Linked DNA regions of Homo sapiens: regions 1, 2 and 3 are each linked to region 4. The links are contacts of gene promoters, found by promoter capture Hi-C in blood cells and fetal thymus (Javierre and others, 2016). All regions are on one chromosome and are shown on one strand. Each heading gives the region's core, a stretch centred on a gene start or on the middle of the fragment in contact. The rest is flanking DNA. Distances are from core to core; before and after follow the strand shown. Region 1 overlaps FANCC (FA complementation group C). Region 2 overlaps AOPEP (aminopeptidase O (putative)). Region 3 overlaps FANCC (FA complementation group C). Region 4 holds the start of FBP1 (fructose-bisphosphatase 1).

Region 1 (4,255 bases), core at 1,176-3,675, 480 kb after region 4:
TGATCTTGGCTCCCTGCAACCTCCACCTCCCAGGTTCAAGCGATTCTCCTGCCTCAGCCTCCCAAATAGCTGGGACTAAAGGCACATGCCACTATGCCCAGCTAATTTTTGTATTTTTAGTAGAGACGGGGTTTCACTATGTTGGCCAGGATGGTCTTGATCTCTTGAACTCGTGATCCACCCACCTCAGCCTTGCAAAGTGCTAGGATTACAGGCATGAGCCACCGTGCCTGGCCTGCTTTTTCAGTTTCTTAATGATATCTATCAAAGAATAGAAATTTTACATTCCTTTCTTATTTTTTGAGATATGGTTTCACTCTGTTGCCCAAGCTGGAGTGCAGTGGCATGATCACAGCTCACTGAAGCCTTGATCTCCCAGGCTCAAGTGATCCTCCCACCTCAGCCTCCCGAGTAGCTAGGACAACAGGTGTGTGCCACCACGTTCAGCTAAATTTTGTATTTTTTGTAGAAAAGGGGTCTTACTTTGTTGCCCAGGCTGGTCTCCATCTCCTGGGCTCAAGAGATCCTCCTGCCTTGGGGCTCCCAACGAGCTGGGATTACAGGAGTGAGCTATGCCCCCAGCCTAAAAGTTTTAAATTCTGATGAGGTCTAATTTATCCATTTTTTCCTATGGTTAGTGCTTCTGAGAAATCTTAGATCACCTCAGTGTCAAACAGATACATTATCCTATGCTCTCTCTAGGGGCTTTATCTTTCTAACATTTCTGTTGAAGCCCATGATCCTCTCAAATTAACTGTTGTGTGCTTTACAAGGTAATGTTTGAGGTTCATTTTTCTACATATGGACATCCAGTTATTCCAGCATCATTTGTTGAAAACGTTCCTTTCCCCATTGAATTGTCTTGGCATCTCTGTCAAAAATCAGTTGGCCACATATGTATGGGTCTATATCTGGACTCAATTCTGATCTATCTATGGCTGTCTTTTTGCCAATACCTCACTGTCTTGATTACAATGGCTTTTAAAATCTTTTTTTTTTTTTTTTAAGACAGCATCTCGCCCTGTCTTCCAGGCTGGAGTGCAGTGGTGTGATCATGGCTCACTGCAGCCTCCACGTTCTGGGCTCAAGCAATCCTCCCACTTCACCCCCCGAGTAGCCGGGACTACAGGCATGCATCACCATGCCCAGCTAATTTTTTATTTATTTACTTTTTTGTAGAGACTGGGGTCCCACTATGTTGCCCAGGCTGGTCTTGAACTCAACTCCTGGACTCAAGCAATCCTCCCACCTTGGCCTCCTAAAGTGCTGGGATTACAGGCATGAGCCGCCGTGCCCAGCCAGGTCTTCATTTTTTTTGTTCAATCTGACGTTTCTGCCTTTTTATTAGAATATTTAACTTCCATTTAATTGCTGAAATTAATGTCATTGTTGGTAGTTTTGGGTTTAGGTCTATCTTTTGACATTGGTTTTCTTTTTTCCCCTCAATTTTTTTGTTCCTTTGGCAGCTTACACTTCTATTTTTTGGCACCTTAAGTCAATCAGATTGTGCCAAGTTCTGGCCCTCTCCTGGCCCCACACTGCCTGCCTTCCAACCTCACATGAGGGCAGCTGGGGGGAGGCAGGAGACCTCTCTGTGTGATGTCCCTTTAAAGGGCTGATGGCCTCCAGTTTCTGTCCACTTTTTCAGGTGCTCTGTAGTGCCTTCAAATAGATTTTTAAAAATACTTTGCCTGGAGTTTATCATTTTTATCTGTGGGAGATGATTTAATCTAGCTCATTACCAGATGCTGTCATGGCTGCAACCAGAAACTGACCTGACTGGCTGTACTGAGCCACAGTGCAGGCTTAGAAAAAGTGGCTTGTCACACCCATTTCAATTTCTGCCTACTGTCTGATAGGGCATATTGATGGAGCTGACTGTGTCCTCCAAACAGAACAGGGACAAGAGGAAAGGGTAAGAAGAGACAGAAGCACTGACATGAGTGCTTCTGATGATAGGAGAGAATGTGGATTTATGGGATCACTCATAAACTGTTGCAGGAAGTGCAGATGAGCACCAACACTTTTGAAATGAGTCTGGCAGGATCTATGAAAGTTGAACTTTTGTATTCCAAATACACTTCCACTCCTAAGTATCTATCCCAGAGTGTCCAGAGCAACATTGTTTGTAATAAAAAACAAAACCTGGAAGCATCTCAAGTGCCTACCAGCAGGAGGATGGCTACACTGCCATACGTTTTCACAATGGACTATGCATAACAGTACTTCCCCACAGCCACACATGGCAACGTCAAGAAGTCTCTGCTGAGTGGAAAAGCAAGTCTCAAAAGATTGCACAGAGTATGCTGCTCCTGTTTGTTTTATATAGTGCAAAAACAACCAAAACTAAACAAAACATTGTTTAGGCAGTCATATATATGTGATCAAACTACTTTCAGAAAGAGCAAAGGGATAATAAACATAAAATTCATTTTTTTTTTTTTTTTTGAGATGGAGTCTCGCTCTGTCGCCCAGGCTGGAGTGCAGTGGCGCAATCTCAGCTCACTGCAAGCTCCGCCTCCCGGGTTCATGCCATTATCCTGCCTCAGCCTCCTGAGTAGCTGGGACTATAAGCGCCCACCACCATGCCCGGCGAATTTTTTTGTATTTTTAGTAGAGACAGGGTTTCACCGTGTTAGCCAGGATGGTCTCGATCTCCTGACCTTGTGATCTGCCTGCCTCGACCTCCCAAAGTGCTGGGATTACAGGTGTGAGCCACCACGCCTGGCACATAAAATTCAAACCAGAGGTTACCTGGAGGGAGAGAGGCAGGGAGGAGCACGTGGATAGACATATATTCAGATTATTAGATATCAGGTTTACAGATACTCATTTTATTAAGAAGGAATTAATGAATAAAACACAGAGAGAAAAGAGGGTCACGCATCTACCAAATATGACATGAAGGGTTTTGATTAGCTAAAAATGGACAGTCAAGAAGGCAGAGGGTCAAAAGATGTAGATGGCCATCAGTTAAAAAGACAGGCACTCAGGTCCAGCTCTAGGAAGAGAAATAAACTAACAGATACCTATGCAGGCATTGGCAAAGCAAAGAGACTTTCCTTTCCTTTGTTGAGCTGAAGGCGAGGGTGGTGAATTCCTGTTTGTTTTTGGATCCCTGCCTTGCCTCACACCAGGACCCAGTGTGTGGTCCCACGTCCTTAGATACGTATGCCTGGTCAGGGTACTAGTCTCAATTAAAAGCAACTGCAACATCAGTCCCAATCCATAGTGCCCACGGCCAACATAGAGGCTGAGGGTGAAGCTAAGAAGAAAAAGAGGCGCGAGCTAACCCTAAAGAGCACAGTGGCACTCCTCCGTGGCCTCTGCTCCAACCCAGGTGTGCTCCGCGAGGCCACAGGTGAGACTCCCCAGAGGCCCGTTCCTAATGGGGTCTACAAAGAATGCACAAGGGAGGCTCAGAGACATTTACAGTTAGGCTCAAAATAACCGTGAGGGCCAGCTGTGCCTTCCAGCCGAGCCACCTCCAAAATTCTAGGTGGGACCATGGATAGCGCAGCTTGCTACAGCCCAGCTAACTTCTCCAGGGAAAGTGAGGGTGGGAAAAAATAAATCACAAATATTTACTGTTGGCCAGGCACAGTGGCTCAAGCCTGGAATCCAAGCACCTTGGGAGGGCAAGGTGGGAGGATCCCTTGAACCCAGCTGTTTGAGACCAGCCTGAGCAACAGAGAGACTCTATCTCTACAAAAAAAAATTTAAAAATTAGCTGGGCGTGGTGGCTTGAACCTGTGGTCCCAACTACTTGGGAGGCTGAGGTGGGGGGATCGCTTGAGCCCACGAAGCCAAAGGCTGCAGTGAGCCATGATCATACCACTGCACTCCAGCCTTGGTGGCAGAGTAAGAGCCTGTCTCAAAAAATAAAATAAAATAAAAATATATTTATTGTTGCTTTAAAAAGCAGAAACAGGCTGGGTGTGGTGGCTCACACCTGTAACCCCAGCACTTTGGGAGGCCAAGGTGGGAAGATTGCTTGAGCCTCAGAGGTTGAGACCAGCCCGGGCAACATGGTGAAACCCCATCTCTAATAAAAATACAAAAATTAGTGCTTCCTCCAGTCCGTGCCTCCAATATGATGAAAAAAAGAAGGAACAACGGTCGTACCAAAAAGGGCCGCGGCCACGTGCAGCCTATTTGCGACACGAACTGTGCCCAATGTGTGCCCAAGGACAAGGCTATTAACAAATTCATCATTGGAAACACAGTGGAGGCTGCAGCAGTCAGGGACATTTCT
Region 2 (4,317 bases), core at 1,695-4,194, 410 kb after region 4:
GCAGATAAATGGGAATACTGAGGGGAGGGACGGAAAGTATGGTTTTCTATAGACTATTTTCCATTAAAATTTAAATAATCAGAAAGCTCAGAAATGTTATTCCTGTAACTTCGGGAAGTTATAGGAAATGTTACATTTTAACATCAAAGTAAAATTCCAATAAAATACTTTTTCTTATAGGAGCACATTTTACATATGTAAAGGAAGATACAAAAATACTAGAAATTCTAAAACTTAACCATTTTTGCGAAATTTTTCTAAACAAATTTCCTGAAGTCTTGCATACATTTGAGAATTTAGATTATTGCTAGAAAGCACATCTTAGGTTTTAATCATGTTCATGCCAACGCCTATGAAAAGACCTACCAGGATTTTAGATCCATAGTTAACCACCACTTGTGAGTATCCATTTTGCATTTTTGAAGACTCGTTGATTGACTATCAAGTACTTGAAATTATGTAAGAGAATACTTTTTTGGCAGCAAAGTCGCATTTCAGATCCCCTGCTCCCCTATCAACTTCAGGCTGCTCCAGGCTCTGGGTCCAGGCTGGAACTCACAGTAGAACTAAGATTATGTCTAAACTCATAGCAGTAAAGTGACGTTTTGCCATAAAAGAACATTTTTATAACGCTATTTCAGTCTACTTGTTTCCTTGGAAATAGTTTCTGTCGTGATGGGCAGTATCTAAATTAATGAATTATTCAGCTATTTGTGCAAAATGTGTAACTTAAGGGCAAACAGACTCGATGTTGTTCGCATCACCTCTCACACATTGGCAAGGCAGCCTTTTCTGTCCTATGTAATGTAGGAAAATTAAACATTTCTTGAAATCTGAGACTTCTGCCCTTGTTCTCCTGAAATTAAATCCATTTTATTTTCAGTAGCATGAATTTCCTTACATGTCCAAGAGGCTGTTAAGGAATTAATCCTTTGCTCTATTCCTCATAACACTTTTCACAGTTAATCTAGTGTGTAAACTGTGTGGACGAGAATCCAAAACTGCAGAATTTGGAGGAAATGTGACTCCTATGCCTTGTAGACATTAAATCATTCTGTGAAATAAAACTGAAACTTTGGATAGGAGATTGTACAGTACTCTCCACACATTTTTATTAAATGAAAACAACTTCCATTATTTTTCCAGCAATCCTTCATGTAGTTGGACTCACCTCACCACCTCCCCCCTGCTCCTTAGTTGTGGTCGGCTCTCCTTACAAATGGACAGGTTGCTTTGTCAACTTGGTGGCAGAAACCACCTGACAAATTGTAGACATGTGGCTAAAATTTATGCTTAGTTTGGATTTGGTAGAAAATAAAGAATATTAGAAAATAAAATGTGACCAAAAAAATATTTATGTTGTCTTGACTGTGTGTCTATGCACAAGAAAGGACAGGAACTGGGAGTAATGGAATGTTAGTGTTTCCGACTCCAGAATAAATACCCAAGAGTGAAAATAATTTATAAATTATGTTTCCTGCTTCAGAATTTGCTAAGAGTGTATGTGTGTGTCCATACTTGAATCACTTGCCTCACCTGAGGATCGGAGTGGTTGACTTGGTTTCTCTGTCCTTCTGTTGCTATTCTTTTTCTCACTTAGCAACTATTATGTTGTTATCTCTAAAATGTTTTTGTGGCTTACTTTTTTTTTTTTTTTTTTGAGACGGAGTCTCGCTCTGTCGCCCAGGCTGAAGTGCAATGGCGTGATCTCGACTCACTGCAACCTCCGCCTCCCAGGTTCGAGTGATTCTTCTGCCTCAGCCTCCCGAGTAGCTGGGACTACAGGTGCGCGCCACCACACCCAGCTAATTTTTGTATTTTTAGTAGAGATGGCGTTTCACCATGTTGGCCAGGATGGTCTCGATCTCTTGACCTTGTGATCTATCTGCCTCGGCCTCCCAAAATGTTGGGATTACAGGAGTGAGCCACTGTGCCCAGCCATACTTTTTTTTTTTAACTGTGAGTTTTGATTTTAAAAAACCCTTAATCGTTAATAGTAAGTTTTAACAAGGAGACTATGGAAGGCAAAGGGAGAGATCTTTCTAAGACATACAGTTGAGTTTTTGCACATAAAGCAAACTAGATTGTTATAACTCCTCATACAGCCCATCTATTTGCTTTTTAAAAAATTGCAGAGCTATCATTTCATTGATTGCAGTTTGTTATAATTAAAGAGGCATTTTCAGTCATTTTACCATTAGCTTTTTAAATATGAAGAATAATTAACCAGATCTGTACTGTAAAGAATGTTTATGAAACTTTTTTTTTTTTTTTGAGACGGAGTCTCACTCTTTTGCCCAGGCTGGAGTGCAGTGGCACAATCTTGGCTCACTGCAAGCTCTGCCTCCCAGGTTCACGCCATTCTCCTGCCTCTGCCTCCCAAGTAGCTGGGACTACAGGCGCCTGCCACCACACCCGGCTCATTTTTTGTATTTTTAGTAGAGACAGGGTTTCACTGTGTTAGCCAGGATGGTCTTGATCTCCTGACCTCGTGATCTGCCCACCTCGGCCTCCCAAAGTGCTGGGATTACAGGCGTGAGCCACCGTGCCTGGCCTATGAAACTTTTTAAGTTGATAAATTTGTATTTTTTAGATATGTTCTAGTTGAGGAATGAGAACCACTCCTGGTCTGAATTTTCATGTGTTGCTATATAAATTTGCTTTTAATAAATTCTTTTAAATCACCAGATTGTTAATTGACAGCTATTCTTGCAGACATTGTTACCTTATTATTTCTTCTTACTATATTGGGCATTAAGTCGTTTATTTCAATGTGATAAACATTTGACTATCAAGGATGGGGGTAGATAGCACATGACATGAGCAAAATCTGGTTCCAGTATTTAAGACACAGCCTTAAAAATGTATATTCCTTTTATAGAAGTTAAAATATAGTTTTCTTTGAACTCGGTTATTCCTTGTTTAAACTCAAAAGGAGAGGATCCTATTTTCTGTACATAAAATTCTGAAGATAGGTATTTTCTGTAAGAGCTGAGTTTTTTCCCCATTTGCTAATCCCTTCTAATTTAGAGGAAAAACCATATTATCACACTGAATGTTAGTGATGATTGCCTATTTGTCCATATGAACACAGTAATTTTGTGCATAGTATAGATTACTATTCACCAGGAATATAGGGCTGTATAAAAAACATTTAACCAAAGAAGAATCGTGTTGATAAATTATTAACTAAAATTACTAAATTTGTAATGAATAATCCTACACAGACCATCTGATTGTGATTTTTGACATATTGGAGTAATATAGGAAGTTATAGAAAGGAAGAAATTCTGGGTTTGGATGAAATTACTGGTTTTTTCCCTTGGAAAAAAAATCTGAATATATTTTATAATTTGTTAGTATTGTAAGTAACAGCCTAAAAACCTGAGCATGTGACTGTTTGACACTGTGCTTCCTATATATCTGTTTACAGAATATTTGGAAAATTTTAAATTCTTCCAGTTCTTGATTGCTGCTTGCACAGAACCAATGTTAAAATGTTATGACTAAGACTAGAGAGACAATGATAGGTTTCTCGGTGCACACTTAGTGCTAGGAGGTCTTCCCATACCTACCGGGCCAGCTTTAGAGAAACCCCTGGTTTCCAGTTGCCTGGTTCAGTACTTTGTTAGAGCACATGCTTTAATTATTTTCAGTGTTCTTAGGTTTGGTTGTGGTAATGAATTTCTTCATAAAGTAGATCTCTCTTTTAAGTGAATTATTAGGAAATACTTGTAGCATGATTTAAGAAAAATATTTCAGCTTCAGCTGGAAGCAGAAAAATGGACAGAGGGGAAGCCAGAGAGTTCAGGTAGGTTACTCGGAGAAACAGTTGACACAAAGCATTCCTTATTTTCTTATTATGTATCTTTAGAATGTAATTTACACAAATTGAACCATAGTTTACATTTTATTCTGAACCTTTTTTCTAAAAACATTTCTTGCCATCTTCCTATATTACAAAAATAATTCCATCTCATTCTTTTTAATAGCTACATAGTATTCCATTGCATGGCTACATACCATATAGGATGTTTTGATTCATATACTCAACCAACCGTTTTTTTACAGTAAAGGTATACTCATATGCTGGGCCTTAGGGGGTTATAAGTTAATGTATAACTAGAATTGGAGCTAGCAAATGTCACTGTTTGTAAATTAGGAACTCAGAATTATAAAATGTATACTCTCCTTCAAGATAAATACAACAAGTATATTACGTACACTGTTATTAATTTAGGTAAGAGCATTAATTCATTTTTGTTGTTGTTGTTGTTGTTGTTGTTGTTGGATACAGAGTCTTGCTCTGTTGCCCAG
Region 3 (4,523 bases), core at 1,527-4,026, 510 kb after region 4:
AGAACTGAGATGCGTTAAAAGAAAAAATCATTATTTAAAAAATTCTTACATTTTTCTTGGGCCTACGTGGAAACATAAGAAGAAATAAGTACACTTTGTTGGGTTTTGTAGTAATATATATTTTTTAATTTTGAAAACTTTTCTAATTTTTAAATTTTATCTAAGTTATTTTAGATAATTTTATTAGATATATATTTGTATGTATATATACAGTGTATATTTTACTTATATATTTTAATATATATTTTAGATTATTATTTTGGAATTTTACAATATTCTATTTGAAAAGTAACATTTATTTATGATGTATTTTCTTGCATTTAAGAATGGATCACTGGCTTTAAAAATGAGGATTAAAAGATTCAATTTCTCATCCTACAGATGTTTCATCAAGAAAAGATGAAACTGGCTGGCGCAGTGGCTCACGCCTGTAATCCCAGCACTTTGGGAGGCCGAGGTGGGTGGATCACCTGAGGTCGGGATTTCGAGACCAGCCTGACCAACATGGAAAACCCTGTCTCTACTAAAAACACAAAATTAGCTGGGCGTGATGGTGCATGCCTGTAATCCCAGCTACTCGGGAGGCTGAGGCAGGAGAATCACTTGAACCCGGAAGGCAGAGGTTGCGGTGAGCCGAGATTGCACCACTGTACTCCAGCCTGGGCAACAAGAGTGAAACTCTGTCTCAAAAAAGAAAAGAAAAGAAAAGATGAAACTGACACATCAGAGAATTCTCTGACTCATGAGATGGAGACATCTGCTACAGAGAAAGTGGGCTAAACTGTAAATAAAGACAAAAAATGTGAGGAAAGTTATTTTTCCCTTGCCTTTACAGATGTTAATGATTTACCTTATTGTGTCTTATGCAACAATATTTTGAATACTGTTATGGTGCAAGTTAACTGCCACATCAGTTTGAGACCAATCATTCAGAGTCTGAAGAAAAAAAATTTAAATGCAGATGTGATAAATTAATATGTCACCAAGAGAACTGTACTTCTGCCTTACAATAGAATCTCTGGACTTACTGTATTGCTTGTACTTGTCTGGTATCAGCACCAACTTAAGCACAGAAGCTCTTTTATATGAAAGTTGGCCACACACCCAAGTGGTAGGGAAATACTTAAAGTACTGAATAACTATTTTGAATCTCCTGGTTTTTCCTGGAATAACCGTGTTGACATTTGCACTGATAGCGCAAAAGCAACAGTGGGTAACACAGCTGTGTCTCAGTGGGAATCAGAGCCGAGACAGCCCTCACGCTACTCTTCACCACCACACACACACAGTCGAAACACTGCATTTTCACATATGAATGTCTGATGAAGCAGTTTAACATACTGACTTTATTAAACTGTTGCCCTCAAGGATACTTTTAAAAAAGAATTCTGTACGGTGAAAAGGAAAGTGTGCATAAAGCACTTCTGCTTCATAACAAAAAAAGACGGTTGCCTGGAGAAAAGCACTCCACTTGTACACCTGCACAACTCTTTCAGCAGTGGGCTCACTTGACCACTTTTTGTCATGGAAATTGACCTGAAAGAATGACTAGCAGACAGGCAGTGGTCAGTCACATTTTAGGATTAGGCACATACTTTCTCAATAATTAGCAAAGTGACTCAGTCCCCTAAGGAAAATGACTGACAGTGTTTGTAGCCCATGATAAATTTTAGCTTTTAAGCAGAAATTAGAATCTTGGAAAATCTATGTCCACCAACATAAGCTTGACAGCTTCCCAATACTTAAAGTCATTTCTGATGAGCTCCATGGTGGCAGTAATGACTATAGGTTTTGATACTGCATATGAAATATGTCAATGTTTGGAAGATATACATAACTCAATGAATGAAGATTTTCCAAATGAACCATGCATAATGCTACAAAATTATGTGTGTTGGCAAAAAAGATCCATTGAAAGTGCAAGACAGACCAATGGGTTTCTAATGTAACAGAGTATGGAAAGTTAACTGACATAATTTCAGATTCCACATTGCAACTACCCTTTAAAAAATGACCATTTTCAAATTTTGGTGAGCTATCAAAGCAGAATTATCCACAATGATCTGCAATGGCTACTAGAATATTCCCGCCTTTCCCAATTACTATCTATGTGGGGCTGGATTTTCTTCATACACTTCAACCAAAACAACACGTCCCACCAGAAGCAGATATGAGAATTCAGCAGTCTTAGGGTAGAAAATGAGACTTGCAAAAATGTAAAAACAATGCTGCTTTTGTCAAACATTTTTTTTTTTGCCTTGGAAAAGAGCATTGCTTTTCATAAAAATAAGCTATTTGTGTTAACGTGTAATAAAATTATTTTTATTTTTTAAGTAACAAACACATTTTTAAAAATTTAGTTTCAAATATGATAAATATTAATAAGGGTTTAACAGATTTTTAAAACTCTTGGGAATGTATGAACACAAAGAAGGAAACAATAGTCGCTGGGGCCTACCTGAGCAACGGTAGGAGGGAGAGGAGCAGAAAAGGTAACTACTGGGGACTGAGCTTAATACCTGGGTGATGAAATAATATGTACAACAAAACCCTATGACATGTGTTTACCTATGTAACAAACCTTCACATGTACCCCCAAACCTAAAATAAAAGTTAAAAATAAAAAAATAAAATGTTTTGGGATCCTCAGTAATTTTTTTTTTTTTTGAGATGGAGTCTCGCTCTGTTGCCCAGGCTGGAGTGCAGTGGCACAATCTCGGCTCACTGCAATCTCCGCCTCCCAGGTGGAAGCGATCCTCCTGACTCAGCCCCCCTAGTAGCTGGGATTAGAGGCACACACCACCATGCTTGACTAATTTTTGCATTTTTAGTAGAGACAGGGTTTCACCATGTTGGCCAGGCTGGTCTCAAACTCCTGACCTCAGGTGATCCACCCGCCTTGGCCTCCCAAAGTGCTGGGATTACAGGTGTGAGCCACCACACCTGGCCGGGATACTCAGTAATTTTTAAGAGTATAAAGGGTACTGAGACAAAAACGTTTGGACACTGCTGTCGTACAGTCTTTCCAACACACCACAGCCTTCTAAGAAAAGGAAAAACGACGCAGGATGACAGGAAACATTTGCCACTTACAGCAAAATGGCCTCGTTTACAGCCTCAAAGAACTCTGGCTGGAGGATTTCCTGAGGTTCACGTCCATGACAGATGAGGAGAGCCTCCACCAGGGGGTCAACATCTGTCAGGGTAATAAGTGGGACACAAACTCGTGACAGGGACGCCACTCGCTCGGGAGCCATTCTATGGAAGAAATAAGAAATAATCACTCAAATCTAAGAGCCATGCATAATTAAGGACATATAAAAACCTTCATGCTAAAAAGGTCAAAGACAGATCACCTGTTTTGCCTCTAAATAAAGAGAATGACTCTAACACCATCGATGAACACTTCTCTTTTATCCAATTCTTTAGGAAGAAATCTTTTAGCTACCATTGCTGTTTCAGTGTCATTCATGGTCAGGACTTTGTTCTTTATATTCACAGGCACTTAATATGTCCAAAACACAACTCCTGAATTCCCTTCCCAGTGTTCCCTTTCCCCAGTGCTATCTTGTTTGCTCAGGCCCAAATCCTGATTCCTCCCTTTCTCTCAGGCCCCTCATCTGATCCATCAGTGAATACTAGCAACACATCTGACCTCTTCTGAACACCTCCATCACTGTCCTCCTAAGTGGAGAGTAACTCACCACCACCTCTAGCCTGGGTGACAGAGTAGCCTCTGGATTTCTTGTTTCTGCACTCACTCCTATAGTTTAACATCAGAACAGTTCCAGCACCCCTTTAAAAATTCCGATCACAACACTTGTCTGCTCAAAGCTTTGCAATGGCTTCTCACCTCATGTAGAGAATAAGCAATGTCTTTCACTAGCCAGCAAGTCCTTCCATGGTGGGTCCCCATCTGTTTCACTGACTTAATCTCCTTCCACTCTTACCTTTGTCTTTTCTGCCTCTGACTGCCCCAAATAAAGTCCTGCTGTTCACTCTGCCTGAAATACATGATTAGCTCCCTGGTTGCAGCTCAAATGTCCCTTTGTTAAGTGAGGTCTTCTCTGATCATCCCATGTCACTATACTGTCTACCATGTGTGGCAATTTAAATGCAAATGAATTAAAATGAAATAAAATTAAAAATCCAGCTCCTCAACTGCACTAGTCACAGTTCAAGTGCTCAACAGCTATAGGTGGCTGGCGGCTACAGTACCGAACAGTGCACATTTACAGGATGTGCCTGGGACTGCAGAAAGCGCCACTGGACACTCGAGCTTCAAGTGCCCTCTTACCCGTGCTTTACTTCTCTTCCTGGTACCTTTCACCACCTGACCTACACAGTATTCCCTTATAGTACTCATGGTTCGCTTCCTCCTCTGAGGGCAGAAGCTCTACAATGGCAGGCAGCTTCTCCTACTTTGCCCACCGCTCTATTCCTAGCACCTAGGGATAACTCCTCACACACAGCACGTGCTCAACAAATCCGTCTCCAGTGAATGATAAATAAAATGAAAGTTC
Region 4 (4,096 bases), core at 1,551-4,050:
CTTACTCGGTCGCCAGGCTGGAGTAGAGTGGCACGATCTGGGCTCACTGCAACCTCCGCCTCCCGGGTTCAAGCAATTCTCCTGCCTCAGCCTCCCAAGTAGCTGGGATTACAGGCGCCTGCCACCATGCCTGGCTAATTTTTGTGTTTTTAGTAGAGACAGGGTTTCACCATGTTGGCCAGGCTGGTCTCAAACACCTGGACTTTGAGTGATCTACCCGTCTCAGCCTCCCAAAGTGCTGGGATTACAGGTGTGAGCCACCACACCCAGTCGACAAGCCCTCTTTTTAAAATATATCCCTGGTCCTCAAAGGCAGTTAAAGCTGTGAGCCACCTATACTAGCTGTAAATTAAAGCTTAAGATTTCACCTGGGTATGTTTCTAAAATAAGAATCCTTAGGAATGTATTATTAAGAGGGGCCAGAGGCAACAGTAATGGAGTCATCACCTTCCTTAACATGTCTGCTTAATATTCAAAAATAAATGTGATCATACCACTCCTTTACATGAATTACCTCCACCAGTCCATACTGTGGGACCAAAGCCAGACAGCCTGCCAGTAAGAAAAGGAATCTAGATTGCAGGATGCGGGGCGGAGAAGAGTTTTTAAGAATGGAGAAATGCATTCCAAACCCAAGTAGCAGGGTTGTATTTGTTCAGGTCAGCTCTGAGCATCATGCGTCTTTTTTTTTTTTTTTTAAGACAAAGTCACGCTCTTGTCGCGCAGGCTGGAGTGCAATGATGCGATCTCGGCTCACTGCAACCTCTGCCTCCTGGGTTCAAGCAATTCTCCTTCCTCAGCCTCCCGAGTAGCTGGGATTACAGGCGCCTGCCACCACACCCAGCTAATTTTTGGTAGAGACGGGGTTTCACCATGTTGATCAGGTTGGTCTTGAACTCCTGACCTCAGGCAATCCACCTGTTTCGGCCTCCCAAAGTGCTGGGATGACAGGCTAGAGCCTACGCGCCCAGCCCATCATGTGTCATTTTTATAGTGTGCATAAGTGCGGGGAATGTTAGTAAAGTGTATGGACAATCTGAAAACCCAGTTACACTTCAGTTAAAAGTGTGGATCAGTTAGCTAGAAAATACCTGCGCACGGCGGCTCATGCCTGTAATCCCAGCACTTTGGGAGGCCAAGGCATCACCGGAGGTCGGGAGTTCGAGACCAGCCTGACCAACATGGAGAAACCCCGTTTCTACTAAAAAAAATTACAAAATTAGCTGGGCATGGTGGCACATGCCTGTAATCCCAGCTACTCGGGAGACTGAGGCAGGAGAATCGCTTGAACCTGGGAGGCAGAGGTTGCGGTGAGCCAAGATCGCACCATTGCACTCCAGCCTGGGCAACAAGAGCAAAATTCCATCTCAAAAAAAAAAAAAAAAAGAAAAGAAAAAGAAAATACCTGTGCACACCAACACAAACGAAAGGATGTTGTGTGACTTACAAAAAACCTCACAAGAAGGGGTCCTTTGAGTCTCCACTCCACTTGACCCCTTGCTACTCACAATGTGATGAGTAGACAAACAGTATCTGATGGGCAGCACCCACCACAGGAGAACTTCTTAGAAATGCAGAATCTCAGGACCTGTCCCAGAGCTATGGAAGGAGGGCACACATCTTACCAAGATCCCCAAATGATTCCTGTGCCCAGTGACGTTCGAGATGCACTCCATAGCGCATTCAGAACCATTCTACAAACCACTTTTGAGCTTTCCACTAATTGGGCAGAGGCTGCACACACCATCATTGCAAATCGATAGGGGTTTTGAAGCCCTGGGTGTTTCCTGTTTCTGGCACAGCATGGCAACTGTCCCAGCAAGGGGCAGCCCACGGGAGCTCCTTTGCACACAAGCCCTGCTGCTCCTAAAGGCTCTGGACACACAGGAGACCTCCCAGCCTGCTTGCGGGGGGGGCGGGGGGGACACTCGCTCCTAACAGGTCTTGTTTCAGGTCAGAGATAACTGGATTAGAAACCTGACTTGGGTCCCTAATTGCAGAAAGAGTGAAGGAGGACAAAGAAGAAATGGGGAAGGAAGGCACCTGAGCTAGCACTTTCCTGTCTGAGGCTAGGGCGGGTATGACGGGCAGGCCAGGTGCCCACACTTGGCCGGCTGAGAGGGGTACGAGGCAGGCTGCTCAGGGCAGAGAAGAGGAATGCAAGATGGAATCAGGTGTACACCTGTGAGACGGACCCCCAGGTGGGCCCCTCCAAGGTCAAGGGAGGAGATGAGGACTTGAGTGAGGCTGAGCCAGCTTCTGGAGAGAGGGGCTACCAGACAGAGAGCGAGAGAGGCGCTCAGACATCAGACGGACAGACAGAGGCTGACGGCAGGAGGCTCAGAGGGCCCAACGTCAGCCCGCCGGGCAGGCTCCCCAGGCAGACAGACAGGACGGGGCCCACCGCCCAAGGCCCGACTCACAGGTGCGCGATGCCCGCCTTGCGCACCGCCGAAGAGATGGCTTTGACTGCTGTGCAGAGCGAGTTGAGCAGCTGGGTCAACTCGCCCGTGCCGCGGGCCTTCCTGCCCTCCTCCATGACGAAGCGGGTCAGGGTGTTGACGTCCGTGTCGAAGGGCGCCTGGTCAGCCATGCTTGAACCGGGTAGAGCGCGGGGCTGCAGGTGCAAGCGGCAGGTGCGGGGCTGCAGGTGCGGGCGGCAAGAGAGGGCAGTAGGCACTGGCCGCAGGTGCGGAGCTGCAGGTGCGGGCGGCAGGTGCGGGCCGCGGGACCTGGCGGGAGGACTGACAGACCGACTGCCGCCCCGAGTGTCCGCAGCGCTCGTGGTGCAACTGGGCCAGGCCAGGCGCCGGCGGGTGAATCGCGGAAACCTTTAGACGCGGGTCGGCCCCCCGCCCCCGGGAACACTCTTGCGCCCCGCCTACCCCGCGGACCAGACCGCGGCTCCGCCTGCTTGGATCTTCAGACAAGGTCGGGGATCCTCCCTGCGGTCTCCCAACCCCCGCCCCCACGCGCCCTGCCGCCCCCTAGTCTTCCTGGGCTGTCGCCCCCCACACACACCCCTCCGTGCCCTCCACCCGCACTGTGGAGCGGGACTCGGGCCATCGGACTCTGCCAGAGAGAAAGCTATGACTGTTTCCTCCAAAATCATAAAACGGAAGTTCAGAAAGGTTAAGTAACTTGCTCAATGCCACCAGCTAGGCAGCGAAACCCGCAGCCAGTCCACATGGCCTGGCTTTAGCTCTGCAGCTCCTGCCCCGTGTGGCTGCCTGCCCCCGCCCCCTGCCCAAGCCCCGTCCACTCTGCCTGGCCTGTCACCTGGCCCTTCTGTCCCCGCTAGGAGACACAGAGTCCCCGTTTCTCACCCATCTGAGGGCCCACGTCTGAATCCTTAATCCAGGCCTCTTCTCAAGATTCCTAGAATTCGAGAGCTATTGAGTATTTGAATTTCCAAGATGTGAGTCTCGCCCGGAAGTTTCCCGGAAAACGGTCGCTGACACAGAGTCCTCGGCTACCACACAAAGGCCAGAGGGCTCCACCGCCCGCATCCTGACCCCCTGGTAGCCACAATGCTGCAATTGATGTGCTGATTCACGAAACAACACCTATTGAGCACCTGCTGTGCTGAACACTGTCCTACCTTCCAGGGGTGGAGCCTGATCCAAACAGACAAAACTCCTGCCCTTTTCGAGTGTACGTTTTCACAGAGAAACAGTAAAAATAAATATATAAACAATAGATTAGTTTGTTACATAAGCCATAAGTACCATAGAGAGAAACGAAATAGAAAAGGAAGACACGGAATGTGGAGGGGAGAAGAGGGTGAGCAGAGGCCTCAGTAAAAGCTTCTCTGAGAAAGGGATATGTGAGCAAAGAGGTGAAGGATGCAACGCGCCGGTGGAGATGGGAAGGAGAGCGGTTTCCTCACCGGGAGAGCCAGTGCACAGGCCCTGGGGTAGGAGACCATGTTTCAGGTTCAGGGAATGGCCAGGAGACCGGTGGAGCTGAAATAGAGCTAGCAAGGGTCAGAGGTGGAGGAGATAAGGCCAGCGGGAGGATGCAGAGGTGAGGTCTAGAGGGCCAAGTGAGGTTTGACTTTGACTAGGAGGAACCCACTGGAGAGTTTGGAGAAGAA

What was found. The method cuts DNA at HindIII sites, captures the fragments that hold promoters and counts their contacts. A CHiCAGO score of 5 or more calls a contact.
Region 1: a fragment that was not itself captured here is called in contact with the fragment with the promoter of FBP1 in region 4 in 2 of 17 cell types (M2 macrophages and monocytes); the score reaches 6.7 in M2 macrophages.
Region 2: a fragment that was not itself captured here is called in contact with the fragment with the promoter of FBP1 in region 4 in 1 of 17 cell types (monocytes); the score reaches 7.5 in monocytes.
Region 3: a fragment that was not itself captured here is called in contact with the fragment with the promoter of FBP1 in region 4 in 2 of 17 cell types (endothelial precursors and M0 macrophages); the score reaches 6.2 in endothelial precursors.

What each region holds. Positions count from the first base shown.
Region 1 is chr9:95,119,428-95,123,682 of GRCh38, forward strand. All of the region lies in intron 10 of FANCC (FA complementation group C), which reads right to left. It also overlaps a transcript of AOPEP not described here and the pseudogene RPS26P37. Among named protein-coding and RNA genes, the nearest start is that of MIR3074, 35 kb to the left of the region's middle. The HindIII fragment of the contact is 6,876 bases long and covers 1-4,255 here.
Region 2 is chr9:95,049,448-95,053,764 of GRCh38, forward strand. All of the region lies in intron 13 of AOPEP (aminopeptidase O (putative)), which reads left to right. Among named protein-coding and RNA genes, the nearest start is that of MIR6081, 14 kb to the right of the region's middle. The HindIII fragment of the contact is 6,308 bases long and covers 1-4,317 here.
Region 3 is chr9:95,146,830-95,151,352 of GRCh38, forward strand. FANCC (FA complementation group C) reads right to left here. Exons shown (of 15, transcript NM_000136.3): 7 at 3,094-3,258. It also overlaps a transcript of AOPEP not described here. Among named protein-coding and RNA genes, the nearest start is that of MIR3074, 63 kb to the left of the region's middle. The HindIII fragment of the contact is 2,111 bases long and covers 1,722-3,832 here.
Region 4 is chr9:94,636,718-94,640,813 of GRCh38, forward strand. FBP1 (fructose-bisphosphatase 1) reads right to left here and starts at 2,801. Exons shown (of 7, transcript NM_000507.4): 1 at 2,424-2,801. The coding sequence starts at 2,593. RefSeq lists a silencer at 2,875-2,934. The HindIII fragment of the contact is 3,451 bases long and covers 354-3,804 here.